2 separate regions of the Homo sapiens genome follow, and region 2 is linked to region 1. The links are contacts of gene promoters, found by promoter capture Hi-C in blood cells and fetal thymus (Javierre and others, 2016). All regions are on one chromosome and are shown on one strand. The core of a region is centred on a gene start or on the middle of the fragment in contact, and the rest is flanking DNA. Distances in the headings are between cores, read along the strand shown. Region 1 holds the start of RGS1 (regulator of G protein signaling 1). Region 2 overlaps LOC107985242 (a long non-coding RNA gene).

Region 1 (6,120 bases), core at 1,203-3,702:
CAGCTAAAAAGAAACGAGGGGTGGGTGGGGAGATAATTAAATTAAATGAACCAACAAATGAATAATTTGAAGAAGAAATTTGTAAGAAAAATACAATTGCTTCCTATTCATACAAAGGTAAGAGACAGCTACTGCTGAAATAGCTGTGTTATAGATTGTAGAGATGAGAAGTCATTTGAAATTTCTTCATTCATAGAAGAGGAATCTGGGGCCAGACAAACTCATTCATAGTCACATTGCTACTTGATGGTGGCTACCAAACTGTTTTGCTTCTATCCGCGGTTTGAATTGAAATTCTGCTCCACTGAATATAAAACCATCTTTTATATATGCCAAATCTTAGCCAGAGTAGAGAGTATTTTAGGAAAGCAAACACTGACAAAAGGCATTAACATCACAATAATTAGTAAATATAATTTCCCCATCTAATTTATATTAGCCAGAAAATGTTAGGCCTATATATGATCTGTAGGCCTGATGTACTAATTATGTTTGCTAGCATTCACTGAGACTTTTATATGGCACCATTTATGGTCCATATCTATACCATTTATTTGTTTAGCTGAATTATAAACAAAGTCAGCTGAGCTAGAGTGAACAATGTGATTCCCAAGTAAAGCTCCTTAGGGTGTCTGTGGGGAGAAAAGAATAATCTCACTCTTTAGAGATAGAGACCACACTGCTCATCTACACCTCTGAAAAAGGTCCTAATCTCAGTAGAATTGTAATGCCCAAGACAAGGGGATGGCAAGCTGATTTCATTCTTTACCTTCTCTCATCAGAAAATCTCCACAAGACTATATGTGCTTAAAAATCCTTCTATCATATTTATGTCATAAAAACTATCATGTTATAATAATGCAATTATTTATGTTATGTATCTCAACCACCTTCAAGGCAGTAAGAGACTGTCTTTGATTTTGAATCCTTGGTACCTCTACAATGTCCTCTACATAAGGGTGAGATGAATGATGAATGTATGAAAGATAATTTAATTAATTGAATGAATGAATCATACTTGTTACATCCAAGTGTAGAAAAATACATTCTTTAGGCAGATTTCAAAATGGCAATGTACATATTAAAATATTTGGCTTACTTTTAAAATTTTTACATATCAGAATCCCAGCACAATGTTTAATTTTATCTCCATAATGATCTATGAAAATACCTAATTGTCTTGGCAAATTTGTCTAAAAGGAGTTGGCAGAATTGAGTGCTAAGTCAGCATTATTAAGAGGCATACTATGCTGAAGTTATCAGTAACTACAGACAAACTAGAATACAACCTTTTGCATACTATCCTACCCAGAATACTATATTTAGTGAAGCCATTCAATTTTTTAGAGTATTTAGCTGAACCCAGAAACATTCAATAGTTATACTTACTTTGGTTGGCAAGAAGTTTTTCCAGAGATTGAGACCATTGCATTACTTCAGCAGCAGAAAGTCTGCAGGGGACAAAATGTACATACATTAGTCAATTTTTAAAATGTAAGCACAAATGAAATAAGAATGGCTGTTACACTTTGATAACTTCACAAACTGAAACTGTAGTTCTAATAAATATGTTAAAATTTATTCACAAAATGCAAAACTTCCCTTAGAGTTACTATAGTTATGAAAAAAAAAACCTGCCAATAAAATTTGAAAAAATCCAAATAGATAAAGTCCAATATGTGTGTGTACACATTTGTATTCAATTTACATTGGTACTGATAGTCTAATTTTATTTGGCATGTTACTTAAAAGAAATGAAGTCTACTGTGCGCAGTATTTATCCCTTGCTGGGATATAGAGATAATGCATAGGCTTCTCTTGTAAATGATAATGATAGTTTAGTGTATTAGTGTACTTACACATCCTTGGACTTGGAAGATTTCATTCCAGATTCCAGATGTGGGATCATAGATCTCAGGTATGCTTTCATATCCATTCCACTACAAAAGACATAAAAGTGAATATTCATATTTCTTCAGAATTCATTTTATTTGTAAAAAGACATAGAATAAATTTCTCTAAGGAATAAGGCAATACTAAAAATGGTTGATACAACATTTTGCTATAGAACCCATTTTTATGAGCCTGTGTAGAGAAAAACTCCTACCCAATTTAATGCCATATCAAGATTTATTTTTTAATGCAGCTGAATATTACTTATTACTCACAACAGGCAATTAACTCCTCTGATCTGGCTAAACTAAATGCTCACACTCTCTTCCATTCATTCTCAATCCTTCTGCCATTAAAGATAACTTGTTAAAATTCACAAAGTGAGACTCTGAACAAACTTACAAAGTCTTTGGCCTCCTTTTTTGCATTTTGTCGTCTAGAAGTGAATGAGTGGTTCCTTTCAATTCCTTTGGGTTAGCAGAGAAGAACATTCCTGGCATTTTGTCTAACTTTGGAGTGGAGATGGCTGCTGCGCGCATGGTGCTCTTAGCAAATATGCGCTAGTCAACGTCTCTGCTGCTTTATATAGTAGAATGCAGACAGGCACTTGCTGTTTAAAGGAGTCTGTTTATCAAGTGATGTTACCACAGACACTGGAAGTTCCCCTTTTCTTGGTGTGCTGTGACGTGTATCTTGAAAAAAAAAAAGCATACAGTGGTGTCTTGTGGTTGAAACTTAACCAAACGAGAACAGGTCACTTGATTAGAAAGAAAGAAAATTAAACATACAGAGGTACACACACATATGTCACATGTCTAAAGCATTAACAGCATCAGTCTTTGGTTCTGGAGGATGTTTGTTTATTTTAAAAAAGTTGCATGTTTCAATAAACTGTTTCATTTGGCGTATTAATTTATCATATAGAAACTCACATAGAAATTCATCACATAGAGTTGTATCTTACTCCATGCTTTGGATAGTCCTTGACTATAAAATTCATCTGATCAAAATATTTTAAGAGTTCTCTTCTTTTCTGCAGGAAGCAGGGCAAAGTAAACAAATAATTTTTGTTTAATTATTTTGCACATATCTGATAGGAGGGAAAGTTATAAGAGGCTATCTTCACATTTTCCCACTCCAATTCTCATCCCTTATTTCCATGGCAGGAAATTTCCATGTTAATATTTTCCAAGGTGTGTGCTAGACATCGACTGGCAATACATAGGATGATTTTAAGGGGTGCATGGTTTTTAATATTATTTTCATATTTATTAAGAATATAACTAGTATATCAAACTTTGATTTTTGCATATTTTGCATATTAGGAAAAAATAAAGTTTAATTAAAACCAATCATAAATAAATAAATGTTTAATTGTATACAAATATGACATAATTTGTAAACATACTGATACCAAGGTCACAGTATCAGAGGAAAAACTGCTCAAGGTAAAATAAAAGTCTATTTGGATAGACCAATAATGTGTACTTCTTAGGTAATGATCTTTCACATTTTGGCAGTATCTCTGGAGAGATAACAGTTTTAGCTTTAATTGAGATTAAAGTTTAAAACACAAACAAAACTCAAGGAACTAGATGACTAATCATTTATAAGGATAGAGAAGTTAGTAAAATATAAGCTTTCAAAAGTTTATATAACAAGTGTGGCTTATTTATAGAGTACCCAGTTTAACTTAAGCCTCCTTGGATTTTACCCCTGGAAGGACAATACTTTCCTTTAAAAGGACAAAAAAGCATTTACTTAGTGAAGCTTCTGATGGTATTAGGTAAAGCTGATAAAAGGGAGGGGAGTATTAATTTTTCTGTTCTGGTTCTATCGTCAGGATAAAGAATATTTGAAGAAAACACATTTACAATATTATAAAATTCACTTATACACAGTCATTAATTTCATTATAATGAGCTCATTATATTGTATGTAACAAGCATCATTTTATGTTGGGAAGATAACATAAGGCATTAAGAAAGATAACTGGTGAGATGAGCTGGCCACTTTGGAAGTGACCCTAATGAGACCGATGAAACTCAAAGACAGATGACATAAAGGCATTTGGTTGTATACTTCCTGTGGTTCAGTCCATACTTAATTTCCTGTTAAAATCTTCAACATTGCTCATGTTTGTTGATCTAGTATCCTCTCACTCCTCTAAATAATTGTGAGTAAGTTATGTTAGAGTAAAATGATTTAAAAATTATTTTTAACAGCCCACTAGTATTATCATCCAAATATACTGACAGTTTCCAAAGAACAAGAGCAGCAGCAAAAATTATGGGGCCAAGTAAGTTTGGGAAATGTTGGACTCCTAACTTGTTAAAGAACTAAACCCTCTTTAGATAGGGAAAATAGTTTTTTGAAATAATGTGTTTTTTTGACACTATGTTAAGAAACTCTGGTCTGAGATCAAAATAAGTTTTTGCCTGTAGTGTATTTAGGAACTGCTCTGATGCTCCCAACATTTTGCTACCCCTATCCCAATATACATTTTGAAGCGCAAGCATTTACAACTGCATGCTTCCACACTTGAATAGAAATATAAACTCTTGAAAGAGGGAGTCCTTTCAAAATTCCTGTATCACAATTGGCTGATGAGGTCACCTTAGTCATGCAATAAAGCAGCTGCTCTCTCAGAGGCTGTTTGCTCATCCACCCAAAGTCTGTGTGTTCCAGAACAAGGCAAATTTGGTCAAGTTGTATCAGCAAGTGTGACAAGTGCATGGCAGGGCATTGAAAGTTCCCTATTAATTTTAAAGAGAGTGCCACTATCTGGCCCCTCTTTGTAAACTTCACTAAGAAAAGATAAACTGTCAAATTGTAACTTTATTGAATCAATGACTTTGGTTGAAATAGTAGAGGATTTCAAAAACGTCAGTAGAAGAAACAGTGGGTCTCACGATCTGGGTTTCAGTTTTCCCTCTTTGAAACTGTGCTAAAACATCTAGGTTTGAGTTTCTAGGAAAAGGAATACTTCATGTAGTCTTAGTGTTATCTTTTTTTTTAAAGAAAAATTAATGGACTTCATTTTTAGGGAAGTTTTAGGTTTACAGTAAAATTGAGTGGAAAGTACAGAGTTCCCACAACTCCCCACCTTTCACCTTGCCTCCAGCTCCACCTCCAGCACCATACCTCGTTAGTGTGAAATATTTGTTATAATTGATGAACCTACAGTGACACAGCATTATCATCTAAAATCTATAGTTTACATTAGAGTTCACTCTTGGTGCTGTACATTCCATGAGTTTGACAAATGTATCATGATATGTATCCATCATTATAGTACCATACAGAATACTTTTCCTTCCCTAAAAATCCCAGTGTTATATTTTAAAATACCTAGGAGATTGGTTCAGTAAGACATTTCAGATTATGGCTGTTGATATTGATAGGAAAAATAAGGAAAATTTTAATCTTTGCTGAACTGATTTGAATGGAAACATTTGGTTTCAATTACTCCAATTACTGGAATACTAATAGGGAGTGCTTTCCTTAAACCTGATGTTGTTTGAACTTTTAAAATGTTGCTAAAATCTTATTGTGGATATTAGAATTGTGAGACAAGGGGTAATGATGAGTATAATATTCTATTTTAAAATAAAAATGTATCCATACTGGAAAAGTCAGTGACGTGGAAAGATAGCTTGATCCATTGAAACAAAATGTTTCGATTCAACAAAGTTTAATTGCATCCCTACAGTGTATCACACATAAAGCACTGCAGATACAAAGATGAATGAATCTCTGTCTTAAGGGGTTCACTGTGTAGTGGGGCTGACAGATGTTTGTGAGAGGTGCCATCAGAGAGGAATGTACAGAGAAAAGAACACAGAGGAGTAATTACCTCTGGAAGTATGAGAAAGGAAGCAAAGTACTGCTGTCTTTACTGTAAAATCAACATGTATCTATTCTTTGCTTGTTTCTGCATTTGTGTTTAGCATCCCTTGGAAAGTTCAAATGGCTGCAATGGAGAAACTGGTCTCTAGTAAGAGACCAGTTTTATGTTGAAGGATCATGGAAAAATGGATCCCATATGTACTCACAAAGCTTTGCAAACTTTCAAAAGTACTCTGAATGACTTAGTTGAATTAGCATAACCACTCAGAGCTTCCTTGGTCTTCAAGGTTTATAGATAAGGCTACTAAAAGTGTTTCAGCTAAATTTCATAGAGTTTATTTGAAAATTTGAAAAAGCTGCAACAAAAGTGAGTTTAGA
Region 2 (6,120 bases), core at 2,688-5,187, 1.7 Mb before region 1:
ATGTGTGGGTATCAGTTGAAAATGGACTGTTGCTTCGTTATGTCATTTTTCCAAAAATTGCCTTGAAAGACAACAGTGAGGAAAAATCCTCCTTGTAGACAGAGTGATAACCAGGGCAAATGGTCATTCACTTTTTTTCAGAAAAATATGTAGCCCAAGGTGAGAATTTATATTGATTACTAGATACCCAATGGTAATGTCAATCGAGAGACCAGACATGAAGGAGGTCTGGAGTAGCAGCATATGAACAGACATATGGAAATGTATACAAAGTGTGAAGATTTTTGTATCACATTTTAACACCCATGAGAAAACATTCACTACGTAAGAGACACTCAACGATGAAATATTCAAATGTGTTGACTACTTGACATTAGTCAGCTTTCATCATTGGCTGCGCTGGAACTGGTGAAATGGCACATCAATAAAATGGCCCTGGTTGCAGTGATAGGCCCATCAGCATTAATTCCCATTTATAAAGGTTGAGTAGCTTCTGCCGCTCCTAAAGATTCAACCTGTCAGCAACAGAGACCAATGTAGCTATGTCAACATGACATTATATTTCAAGGAAACTAAAATGACACTTGGCAGCAAGTCAGCTACATTGGGACCTTTCTGTCTTTGATGTGCCAGCAGTTTGTGTGGGGATTTGACATTCCTTCTTGAAGAACCCCAGTCAGCACACTATTCAGTGGCTTATGGAATGCCTCATGCACAGTCACAGAATCCTACACAAAATAGCATCTGAACAGGCAACCCACTTCATGGTGCAGAGGTGTGTGAGTTGGCCCATGACTGTGAGATCCACTGGTTATATCATATACCACACACTCCACTAGTTATCCTCCAAGAACATTGAAGTATTCTTCTAGAGGCAGAATTGGAGCACCAACTCAGAGGCAACACTCTCCAAGGATGGATTTTTATCCTTTGTGCATATCCATTAAGTCAAAGAACACTCCACCCACCACCCGCCCATATAGTGTTCTGTCCTCAATGGGAAGAACAGATCACTGCAGAAAGCAAGGAGTAGGAATAGAAGTAGCCCCACTTCCGTTAAGTCCCAATGACTCACTGCATGATTTTATCCTCATATTTCTTGATTCTGCAAGGTTGAAGGTCTTGGATCATATTCTTGCCAGGGACCACAGCAAAGGTTTCATTAAGGACAAGCCATTGAGGTCTTGACAAATCAGAGAAATTTTGACTGCCTGGGTTCTGGGACCAGCACTCAAAAAGAAGAGTCAGTATCTTGTCAAGGTAATTAACCTTGATCACCACAATAAGGTAGGACTGTTTTTAAAGATGACTCGGGAAAGAAAGTGTAGGCACTTCAGTTGATTGACTTGGCTGCCTCCTAGTAGTCCCTTGCTCCTTTATAACTGTGAATGAGTATGTATAACAACTCTAGCCTGAGAAAGACGTGATTTCCAAGGGCTCAGAATGAATGAGTCACCCCTGAACTATTGGGTTTTAGTGGAGCCAATCATCATAATATCATCAAATCATCCCTGAAAGAAGTCTCACTTGCACATCTTAACCCACTCATTAATGGCACAATAACAAGACATTTCAAGTTCCCTGTAGCAGCACAGTAAATGTGATGGATATAGATACAGATACTTCCATTCTCTCATATACCTCTTTTTCCAAATATAGCAAATCGAATGTGTGGTCCAGTCCTCTCAAGAGAACCGGATTATACAGCCACTTGAGCATTGTTATCCAAACAAAGCCTTAAATGTTTGTATACTCCACTTTCCCTCCTGCCCCACTGTGTCCCTACCATGACTAAAGCTTTTGGTCTCTGGAATTGGAGGGACTTTGGATCTACCTTTATTATACAATCTCCCTAAAGGATAGTAAATCAGGATGTGGTGGTTCAGGGCCAGGTAGGAGAGGTGCTGAAAGGCTAATTTATCCTAGGGCAACCAGTTAACTTCTCAGTTCCTCCAGTAGGAGGAGACCAATCTCCATGGAGGAACCTCTGTTATGACATAGCCTATGTAAATCCCCAGACACATCAAGCAAATGCACCTGCCTTTTGACATAGGTAGTTTATATTTCCCTTCCTGATGTTGGACCAGAGTACTTCCCGGTCTCCATTTTTATAGGAGAACAAGCAAAAATCATGGTACCATTTGGGCTGCTTATTTCAATCCTACCTCTTACCTTTCAGTCTATTTATTTACTTACTCCTATTTATTAACTAGTGCAGCACTCAAGATCCACTTATTCTGCCCCATCCACTGTCTTCCAACACTTGAGCAAGAGCAATTCATATCACTGAAACTGGCACATAAGGCCCTTGTCTTTTCTCCTCTGGGAAAAATAAAAAAAAGTTTGTATATCTCAACAACCCTCCCCTTGTGTCTGTCAGGAAAGTGCTCCAACCTCAAAGACAAAGGCAGGACTAAGCTTGCCACAACTCCAAAGGCATCAGTGAGACTTGGCGAATAATAGGAAGTCTGCATATTAATACTCACAGCAGAAACATAAACATGGTTATATCAGTTCTCCCCTTCTCCAAGTCTCATAAGGTATCTCAGTATCCCAGATGAGACTAAAAGAGTGCATTGTGATGCAGCTAAAGAACTGAGGGCCGAAGACCTAGCATCTTTTGTGGCAGGCAGCAAAAATGACAGTTTCCTTTCTAGTGAGTGGACAGTTATACAGTAGCCATGCTGTGCTGGTCTTCACCTATTTGGTTGCCACATAATTAGATACAGAAACTGCTCACAGTCAGACAGTGGTTAGCCATTTGCAATTTGGCACACTTGACAAGGACATACAGGAATGCTCGGGGGATATGGTGAACTGCCTCTCCCAATAAGTAACTGCTTCCAAAACCTGCATATAGAAGTAGATTTGTGTTGTATGAAGCATCGCCTACAGTGGCCGAGAAAATAGACCACACAGTTCTCTATTATTGGGGTAAAATCGATAGTCACTGCTGCTGCCTTCCTCGGATCCATCATTTTCAAATAGAGACCACCCTTCCTGGGCTCCTTCTAGCCAACAACTGGGCATGCTGGTAGTAATAATGCAGACTAATTTCTGAGAGACACACAACTCTGCCAATGGAAGACTTTAGCTCAATGACTCTTTATATGACTGGCAGAAATTTTCTTAGAACCGCATTACAGTCTGAGACTCTCCACACCAACTCTTCCTTCCCTTCTCCTTCACAGGGGTCAAACCTACACATCATGATCTGCAAGCTCACCCTCCTTTCTCTGCCTCTCTCCTCTATCATCAACCAGTTGTTTCCCCCAATAAGTCTTTTGTATGTCTAGTGCTATGTTGGGTCCTGCTTCCTAAGTGGACATAACCTAGCACATCTCCTGAAAGACAAAGAGGAAGATGTCATCTTCTCTGATGGAGACGATTATCAGATGTCTTTACCATGAAGAATAGTAATGTTTTACTAAAAGCTAGAGAGCAGCTTATGTAAGCCAAGTGAGAGAGTCATTAGTAGGGCCCACAGTACCTATGAGGAATGAGTGAAGGGGTTGGTCAGCACTATTCATGTAAAGAGAACAGGCCACAAGTTACACCAGTCCAAATGTGCATTTGCCTGGGAAGAGGTGGTGGTTAGGCCAGTGGCCCTCAGCAACAGCTCTCAGTGTCTCAGATGGGCTGGGCCAGACAGAGCACAGCAGAGAAAGCACAGCAACCAGCATGAGATCCAGCCATGCTGCCTCCCACAGCCAAGAAGACCACACTTTTTTCTCAATGCCTAATGAGAAAATGAAGAGCAGGAGAAAATAGTCTTGGAATGAAAACTTGCATGGAATTTAGTTGTGTATCTTTTCCTTTTCTACCCCCGCCAGCCTCCTACTTTGGGGATCAGGATTTGTAATGAGACTGACTGTACCAATTAGAAGAAACACATGTTCTGTTTTCTTTTTACAGCTTTGGAGTGAGTCAATTCCTGAAGTTAGTAGAAAATAGATTCCAAATAGTAAGATATTATATATGTGTATGATTTGCACGTCTTTCTGTTGCAGGATAGTATTTTACACTGATTTTATTGATTGCTACAACTTTCAAATTCCTTAACTTGATTTCAAGACATTCCATAGTCTTGTCCTACCCTACGCATATCTACTTTTATCCAAATATCCTACATATTTTTTTCACTACTGCCTAATGGAGTCTTTCTGGCCATGTTGGCCTCATTACTGTTTCATAGACATAATAAGCATATGGTGCATAGGGTATACAGCCATAATCACTTAACTTGCAGCCAGAATGTTTTCATTTCAATTATGCAAACATGCATACAAAAGTTATGAACTAAGGATGTTACTGAGCTTCAGATCACTTTTCTAAAGAAAAGAAATTATAATACTTGCCTCCTTTATTGAGTTGTTGTAAAGACCAAAGTTAAACAAGAAAAAGCATAAGCAAATACATTATAAGTTGAAAATGCTATGTAACTGTAATTGTTATCAGTAAATATCCTCTTGTGTTTTTTTAAAACTTTGTGGACCCAATCCGTATATCAATGCCCAACTCAAGTTTTACATAATTCCTGGAGACTGCCCTTTCATATGGAGAGCTTCAGAAAACAACAGTGCTTTCCCCAACAATAAATTATGCGAGGAACTTAGGGGATAAATATTCCGGAGATGAGTTACTGTACAGCCTGGGTGGAGGACCCTCATGTGGTCTCTATCCTAGCAGCAACTGGTAACTCACTAGAAATGCAAATTCCTGGGCCCTATCACAGACCTACTGAATCAGACACTCAGGAGGAGGGAGCATGGAGTGAAGGCCAGTGATCTGTGTGTTAACACACCCTCAGGGTGATCCTGAAGCATAATAATCTTGAAAACCCCTGTTTTTGGGTATGAGCATTGAATATTTGTTCATCATTTCATCTTCTACAGTTTATACTGTGGCTAAACTATTTGAGGGTTTCAATAAAAGATTTTTTTTCTCTGCAATATCTGATGATCTCAGTCTTTGGGTCATAGTATGAATCATACAATTTACGGATGTCTTTACTCTCTTTTACTCTCCCCTAAAATTTTCTAGGACTAAAGATTATTGAATACAAATAAAGATAAATAAACAAATAAACCTTAACAAGATGAGGAAAACAATCCTCTAAATTCGTATATCTAGTCATTACCAGAATATTTCTGACTGTATTCACATATACTTTCACATTATATGTCCTTAAGTGTTTCTTTGTACAATTTATTTTTAGCCATATTACTGCAGCAGAATTGCAAAGCCTCAAAATTTGTATAAGCAGTAATAATTCTTATTTTTATATAATTATTTTTATAAGTTAAATGAAACACCTATCCTATATGTAGATTAAAAGATTAAATAATAGCCCTTACAATAATATTAATTATTTACTTACAGTTAGTGATTGATAATATTACTTGTATATATTCCAGACTTACAGAACATTTTTCCTGAGAGATGATCAAGCTTCCATGGGTTGTTTTCAGTCCTGGATTTATAATTCCAGAGGTATAGAAAATATTGTTGAATGTTATTATTTACTTCAGAATTTAACAGTAAATACACGTTTTAGAGAGTGAAGCGTAATTAAGTAAATTCCCTAGATGATGTCAAAAATATTAATAGTCCATGTATGTTTAATTATATGAATGCAAGTTCTGTTATTTGTGTGAGAAAATTAAAACAAATGTTACAAGCAGAAAATTGCTTATAGAGTGTCATCAATTAAGGCTGACATTTGTCTCTATCATAAGACTATAATTTATGTTTTTATACTTTATATTCAGTATTAACAATAAAACCTATTTGCATATGACTATAATTAAACTAGCATTTATCTTTAAATTTTTTATAAGCATTTAAAAGATGTTACATGTTTTTATCCACTTGTACCATTCAAGTAAATAACTATAGATTAGGCTTAGATCAGCTTGTTACCCAATAACAGAATTTGTTGGCTTTCATGTTTTATGGAAAACTGACTGCTGTTCAGACTATTGACACTAAACTGTAGGGAGTATTTTCACTGACTATACCCTGGTGTTAATATAATCTATAACTTTCAGTAAAAATATTAATGTTTTTAGAATTTTAGATACCAGGGTGTTTCAATCCATCATTTGTATTCCTTTTTAT

The links. Contacts are between HindIII fragments. The CHiCAGO score rates a contact against its expected background, and 5 or more counts as called.
Region 2: a fragment that was not itself captured here is called in contact with the fragment with the promoter of RGS1 in region 1 in 4 of 17 cell types (non-activated CD4 T cells, total B cells, total CD4 T cells and 1 more); the score reaches 9.5 in non-activated CD4 T cells.

What each region holds. Positions count from the first base shown.
Region 1 is chr1:192,572,105-192,578,224 of GRCh38, reverse strand. It overlaps RGS1 (regulator of G protein signaling 1), which reads right to left and starts at 2,452. Exons shown (of 5, transcript NM_002922.4): 1 at 2,296-2,452; 2 at 1,860-1,940; 3 at 1,390-1,451; 4 at 1-3. The coding sequence starts at 2,432. The region is part of intron 3 of LOC105371664 (a long non-coding RNA gene); the gene reads left to right. RefSeq lists an enhancer at 2,528-2,607. The HindIII fragment of the contact is 3,705 bases long and covers 1-3,534 here.
Region 2 is chr1:194,291,726-194,297,845 of GRCh38, reverse strand. The region is part of intron 2 of LOC107985242 (a long non-coding RNA gene); the gene reads left to right. LOC105371670 (a long non-coding RNA gene) reads left to right here. Exons shown (of 3, transcript XR_922390.2): 2 at 5,418-5,493. Among named protein-coding and RNA genes, the nearest start is that of LINC01031, 990 kb to the right of the region's middle. The HindIII fragment of the contact is 3,033 bases long and covers 2,421-5,453 here.